Linked DNA regions of Homo sapiens: region 2 is linked to region 1. Evidence: promoter capture Hi-C in human tissues and cell types (Jung and others, 2019). All regions are on one chromosome and are shown on one strand. Each heading gives the region's core, a stretch centred on a gene start or on the middle of the fragment in contact. The rest is flanking DNA. Distances are from core to core; before and after follow the strand shown.

Region 1 (3,704 bases), core at 731-3,230:
GATCTCATCTCACTGCAACCTCCACCTCCTGGGTCCAAGGGATTCTCCTGCCTCAGCCTCCTGGGTAGCTGGGATTACAGGCGTGAGCCACCGTGCCCGGCCTAATTTAATTAAATTTAAATAGCCACAGCACATCAAGTCCAGCCTTCTGAGCTTCCCTCCACTGGCCTTACAAGATCCCTCACTCCCTTATTGCTTTCAGACCCCATAGCCCTGTTGTATCATCCTAGGAATCTAGAAATGAGTCTCTCAAAATCTCACTTCTTCAACACAGTGCCTGAAATTCCACCATCAGTGTGCCAACTCCTTGAGTTTAGCATTTCCTTCACCCCCGATTCCACTTTTAAGTTGCAAATAGCCCAGTGAGGGTTACAGACGGAATGGGCAAAACCTCCCCGTGAAGTAGATGGTCCAAGGGCTGCCTGGTCTTTGGAAGCTGAAGTGGACATTGCAAAGGGAGCAATGGTGTCAAGGCTGGATGCCGCGCCATTAGAGCTTAGGGTCCAGAGCCCACGGTGGGAATGAGGGCAGCTGCTATTGCTCTTACCTGCCAGGGCCAGCTGTAGGGGACCGCATCCTCACCATTGACAACGCGGCTGGAAGGGCGAGAGGAAGGTGGGCCATAGCCTGAGGCTAGAGGGGAGAGGAGAGCTGTCAATCAGCGGGAGGGTCCCCAAAAGCAAAGAGGAGGCCAGGGTCCCAGTCCAAGCCGTGCCTTCAAGTGGCTGTGTGACCCCATGCAAGCCCCTTTCGCCCTCTGGACCTCAGTAACCACATATGAATAGTGAACATTTAAACTAGAGCAGGGCTTTCCAGAATCCCAAGACTCCAGGGATAGAGATTCAAATGTGGCCTCCTTCATTGGGAGGATTGAAGAGCTTGATACACTTAGAACAATGCCTGGCCCTCAATGAGCCCTCAAAAAGTGAGAGCTATTGTCATACAGAGTGGAGGCTTTAAAGAAGGACTTCCTGGGTTCAAAGTGCAGCTCTGGGCTGTGTGTGGTGGTTCACACCTGTAATCCTAGTGCTTTGAGAGGCCGAGGCGGGAGGATCGCTTGAGCCCGGGAGTTTGAGACCAGCCTGGGCAACATAGCAAGACCTCATCTCTAGAAAAATAAAGTACAATAAAATAAAGTAGCCAGGTATGGTGGCATGTGCCTATAATCTCAGCTACTCAGGAGGCTAAGGTGGTAGGATTGCTTGAGGCCAAGATTTTGAGACCAGTCTGGGCAACAAAGCAAGACCCCATCTCAACAAAAAAAAAAGCAAAAAATAAAAACATTAAGTGCAGCTCTGCCTTTTGTTCTATGATAAGCTACTTTACTTCCTTGAGGGTCGGTAAAATGGGGAAAATGATAGTACTGATCTCCTGAGGCTGTTGTGAGAATTACATGAGAAAGTATAAGGAAAACCCTAAACATTCTGCCTGGCATAGTAAGCACTCAATCAATGTTATCTGTTACCATTATTGTCAGTCAAGGGAGGCTGCTTGGAAGAGGTGGCCCTGAGCTGGAATGTAATATGGCAGAGAGACCAGGAAAAGGCCAGAGCATAGAATATGGAGCCAGGTAGGGGGAGTGTGAGAGGAGAGTTGGAGTGGTAAGCAGAACAGTGGAAATTCCAACCCAAGAAGTCCAACCACACAGCCCAAACTCTTAACCGTTTGACTTTGTTTACTGCCCCCATCAAGGACTTCCACCACAGCCCTTTGGGGTCTTTCTCCATCCACGGCTTCCCCTCCACTCTCCTGCTCCATCATAAGCTGAAAGCCCCCACAGTCATGCCCCCGGGTACAAGCTGAGACCCCCTCCTGTGGAACCAGGCATAGGGTGTCATGGGACTTAGAGCAAGTGGTAGATTTCAAGGATTCCTAATCTAGGGCAGCCCAGGGAGCACACACACAGGTTGGGGTCTTACCAACGGCCACAAGGAGGAGGGAACTGAGCAGCCGGAGCATCATGAGTTTTGCGATGATAGGAAAAGGGCACAGAACCTGGGGCTCTAATATAGGGCAGAAGGTAAGCAAAGGGGGCTGACTGGGCCCCACTCCCAGAACAGGTGGTGGAAATGCAGGTCTCCCATGGTCCAAGGCCACAGTTCTCACTCACTGCAGATGGAGGAGTGACAGCCAAAGGAAGGACCTAGCGTTCCCTCCAACAGGTGGCCGCACAGGTGGTGTGGAGTGGCCAACTGATAACAAGAGTTCAGGAAGAAAAGCTCATGTCAGGACAAGACCTCCTCTTTCGGAAAGAACAGGGGCACTGGAACCGGGCAGACCACGGTTCAATCCTGGTTCTGCCACCTCCAAGCTCTGCGACTTTGGGCGCATGGCTTAACCTCTCTGAGTCTCAGTTTTCTGCTCTCTAACATGAGATTTATATTAGTACCCACCTCCACAAAAAATTTTTTGTTGAGCACTTTTTCTCTATGTATCAGGCACTGTTCTAGGGGATACAGCTGTGAAAAATACATGGTCTCAGCCCTTCTAGAGTTTGAGTCTAGGCCAGGAGCGGTGGCTCACACCTGTGATCCCAGCGCTTTGGGAGGCCAAGGTGGGAGGATCAATTGAGGTCAGAAGTTTGAAACATGGTGAAACCTTATCTCTACTAAAACTACAAAAATTAGCAGGCGTGGTGGTGGGCACCTATAATCCCAGCACCGGTAATCCTAGCTACTGTGAGCCTGAGGGAGGAGAATCATTTGAACCCAGGAGGCAGGGAGGCAGAGGTTGCAGTGAGCCGAGATCATGCCACTGCACTCCTGCCTGGGCCACAGAGCAAGACTGTCTCAAAAACAAACAAACAAACAAACAAAACAGAAAAGAAAATGGGGCGGGCACGGTGGCTCACGCCTGTAATCCCAGCACTTTGGGAGGCTGAGGTGGGTGGATCACGAGGTCAGGAGATCGACACCATCCTGGCTAACACGGTGAAACCCCGTCTCCACTAAAAATACAAAATGTTAGCCGGGCGAGGTGGCGGGCGCCTGTAGCCCCAGCTACTCAGGAGAGTGAGGCAAGAGAATGGCGTGAACCCCAGGGGGCAGAGCCTGCAGTGAGCCAAGATGGCGCCCCTGCACTCCAGCCTGGGCGACAGCGAGACTCCGTGTCAAAAAAAAAAAAAGAAAATGAAAATGGGTGATTGGGGTAGGAATGGAGTAAGTCATTTAGATGAGGGGGACAGAGAAAGTGACATTTGGGCTGAGGAGGTCATATCTGATGGAGTCCTGAGGATAAGTAAAAGCCAGCAACGGGAATCCCTGAAAGAAACGCGTTCTGAAGGGAGGCGACAGCAGGTGCGAAGTTCTGGAGGCTGCAATGGGCTTGGCTTGTTCAAGGAAAGGGAGGCCAGTGTGACAGGAGCTTGGTAGTCAAAGTAGAGAGGGGTGGGAGATGAGGTCAAAGAGCAGGCAACCCCGAAAGTGGAATTCACAGGTGATCCAGCGGTTTCCCTCCTAGGTCTACACCGTGAGAAAACCTTAGGCATGTGCTCCAGGAGGTGTGGATGAGATTGTTTGCCGCAGCCCCTGTTCTCAAACCTCAACAGCAAAGACCTAGAAACAACTCCCACGTCCATCAAGGTTCATAGGTCAATATGTGTAGCATATTCACACAATAGATTTTTTTTTTTTATAGTGGTGCGATCTTGGCTCACTGCAACCTCCACCTCACGGGTTCAAGCGATTCTCCTGCCTCAGCCTCCC
Region 2 (3,704 bases), core at 817-3,316, 290 kb after region 1:
AATTAAACTAGAAAGGTGGGAACGAAGCCTATACCAAATAGGAGACCATCTCTTAGCCCTTTGCTCAAATTCGGGCAGCCCATTACTTACCCTCCCCCAGGTGGGAAGGGATTTCTCTCCAGGGAAACTAGTCAAGAAAATAACCAGTGGATGTAAAAAGTCTGGTTCTGTATGATCAAGTGAGATTTCTCCCAGGGATGCAAGGATGTTCAACATATGCAAACCAATACATCACATCAGCAGAATGAAGGACAAAAATCATATGATCATCTTAATAGACAAAGAAAAAGCATTTGATAAAATTCAACATCCCTTCGTGGTAAAAACTCTCAAAAAACCAAGTACAGAAGGAACATACCTCAATATAATAAAGGCCATATGTGAGACCCACAGCTGACATCATACCTAATGGCGAAAAGCTTAAAGCCTTTCCTCTAAGAACTGGAATAGACAAGGACGGCCATTTTCACCACTCTTATTCAACATAGTATTGGAAGTCCTAGCAAGAGCAATTAGGCAAGATAAATAAGTAAAAAGCATGCAAAATTGGAAAAGAGGAAGTCAAATGGTCCCTCTTTGCAGATGACATGCTTTTTTTTTAGAGTCTTTGTTGCCCAGACTGGAGTGCAGTGGCACCATCTCAGCTCACTGCAGCCACCACTCCTGGGTTCAAGCAATTCTTGTGCCTCAGACTCCTGAGTAGCTGGGACTACAGGCATGTGCCATGACACCCAGCTAATTTTTGTATTTTTACTAGAGATGAGGATTTCCCATATTGGCCAGGCTGGTCCCGAACTCCTGGCCCCCTGTGATCTGGCCACCTGGGCCTCCCAAAATGCTAGAATTACAGGCATGAGCCACCATGCCAGGCTGACATGATCTTATATATGTAGAAAAACCTAAAGACGCCACCAAAACACTCTTAAACAACTGATGAACATTCAGTAAAATTGCAGGATACAAAAATCAGTGTACAAAGTGAGTTTCTGTAGTGTAGTGATTATCATGTTTACCTAACAAAAATCAACATACAAAAATTAGCAGCATTACTATACATCAATAAGAACTAGCTGAAAAAGAAATCAAGAAAGCGGCTGGGCGCAGTGGCTCATGCCTGTAATCCCAGCACTTTGGGAGGGTGAGGCAAGTGGAGCAGTTGAAGTCAGGAGTTTGTGACCAGCCTGGCCAACATGGCGAAACCCCATCTCTACTAAAATTACAAAAATTAACCAGGCGTAGTAGCGCATGCCTGTAATCCCAGTTACTAGGGAGGCTGAGGCAGGAGAATTGCTTGAACCCAGTGGATGCAGTGAGCCAAGATCGCAGCACTGCACTCTCTAGCCTGGATGACAGACTCCATCTCAAAAAAAAAAAAAAGAAAAGAAAGCAATTCCAATAATAATAGCTACAAAAAAAAATAAGATTAAATACTTAGGAATAAATTTAACCAAGAAGGTGAAAGACCTCTACAAGGAAAACTACAAAACACTAATGTAAGAAATTGAAAGATGCAAACAAATGGAAAGATATCCTGTGCTCATGGATCAGAAGAATTAATATTGTTAAAATGACCATATTACCCAAAATAACCTGCAGATTAAATGCAATTCCTATCAAAATACCAATGACATTCCTCACAGAAATAGAAAAACACAATCCTAAAATTCATATGGAACCACAAAAGACCCTGAATAGCCAAATCAATCCTCAGCAAAAAGAACAAAGCTGGAGGCATCATGCTACCTGGTTTCAAAATATACTACAAAGCTATGGTAACCTAAACAGCATGGTATTGGTATAAAACATAGGACAATGGAACAGAATAAAGAACCCAAAAATAAATTCACGTATTTACAGCCAACTAATTTATGACAAAGGCACCAAGAACATACACTGGGGAAAGGGCACCCTCTTCACTAGATTTTGCTGGGAAAACTGGATATCGATATGCAGAAAAATGAGACTAGACCTCTGTCTCTCACTATATATTAAAATCAACTCAAAATGGATTAAAGACTTAAATGTAAGACTTGAAACTATGAAATTGCTAGAATTCAATATGGGGGAAATGCTGTCAAACATTGGTCTAGACAGAGATTTTAGCTGAGACCTCAAAGCACAGGGAACAAAACCAAAAATAACCAAATGGACTATATTAAACTAAAAAGCTTCTGCACAGCAAAGGAAATAATCTGCAGAGTTGAAGAGACAACCTGTAGAATGGGAGAAAATATAATCTCATTAAACAGTAGGCAACGGACCTGAACAGACATTTCTCAAAAGAAGACATAAACATGGCCAATAGGTGTATGAAAGATGCTCAGCATCACTAATCATCAGGGAAATGCAAATCAAAATCACAGTGAGATACCATCTTATCAGTTAGCATGGCTATTATCAAAAAGACAATAACATGTAACTAGGATGCAGAGAAAAGGGAACTCTTATACGGACTTTTGGTGGGAATGTAAATTAGTACAGCCATTATGGAAAACAGTATGGAAGTTTCTCAGAAAACTAAAAATATAACTACCATATGATCCAGCAATCCCACTAGTGGTATTTATCCAAAGGAAAAGAAATCAGTGTATCGAAAGGATATTTGCACTCTCATGTTTATTGCAGCACTGTTCACAACAGCCAAGGTATGGAATCAACCTACATGTCCATCAGTAGATGCCTTGATATGTTATATTTATATGTAGACATACAATGGGATACTATTATTCAGCCATTAAAAAAATGAAATCCTGTCATTTGCAGCAACATGGGTGGAACTGGAGGACATTATGTTAAGTGAAATAAGCCAGGCTCAGAAAGACAATACTGTATTTTCTCACTCATACGTAGGAGCTAAAAAAGCTGATCTTTTGGCTGTAGAATGGTAGTTATGAGTGGATGGGAAAGGGGCCATATGAAGGGAGGTTGGTTAATGGGTACAAACATACAATTTGATAGAAAGAATAAGTTCTGGTATTCAGTAGTACAGTAGGGTGATATGTTGTATATTTCAAAAGAGCTAGAAGAAAAGATAATGCAATGTTCCCAACACAAAGAAATGATAGGCCGGGCGCAGTGGATCACTTGAACCCAAGAGTTCAGGACCAACCTGGGCAACATAGTGAGACCCTGTCTCTACTACAAATTTTAAAAAAAGAGCCAGGCATGGTGGCTCGCACCTGTGGTCTCAGATACTTGGGAGGCTGAGGTGGGTGGATTGCTTGAGCCGGGGAGTTGGAGGCTGCAGTGAGCTGTCATCATGCCACTACACTCAAGCCTGGGTGACAGATTGAGACCCTGTCTCAAAAAAGAAGAAATAATAAATATTCAAGGTGATGGAGATAACTAAATACCCTGATGTGATCATTATACACTGTATGCATGTATCAAAATATAAGCTGTTCCCCATAAATATGTACAAATATTATGTTTGGCTTTTATTTTTTATTTTTTATTTTTTTGAGATGGAGTCTCAAAAGGCTGAAGTGCAGTATGGCTCACTGCAACCTCCGCCTCTGGGCTTCAAGTGATTCTCCTGGCTCAGCCTCCTGAGTAGTAGCTGGGACTATAGGCATGCAACACCATGCCTGGCTAACTTTTGTATTTTTGGTAGAGACGGGGTTTCACTATATTCGCCAGGCTGGTCTCAAATTCCTGTCGTCAGGTGATCTGCCCATCTCGGCCTCCCGAAGTGTTTGGATTAC

Evidence for each region. The method cuts DNA at HindIII sites, captures the fragments that hold promoters and counts their contacts. A contact is called where the count stands out against the background at its distance.
Region 2: a contact is called between a fragment that was not itself captured here and the fragment with the promoter of CELA3B in region 1, in 1 of the 25 tissues and cell types used here (dorsolateral prefrontal cortex).

What each region holds. Positions count from the first base shown.
Region 1 is chr1:21,975,298-21,979,001 of GRCh38, reverse strand. CELA3B (chymotrypsin like elastase 3B) reads right to left here and starts at 1,980. Exons shown (of 8, transcript NM_007352.4): 1 at 1,920-1,980; 2 at 548-633. The coding sequence starts at 1,962. The HindIII fragment of the contact is 22,565 bases long and covers 1-3,704 here.
Region 2 is chr1:21,683,003-21,686,706 of GRCh38, reverse strand. All of the region lies in intron 25 of USP48 (ubiquitin specific peptidase 48), which reads left to right. Among named protein-coding and RNA genes, the nearest start is that of RAP1GAP, 15 kb to the right of the region's middle. The HindIII fragment of the contact is 4,086 bases long and covers 24-3,704 here.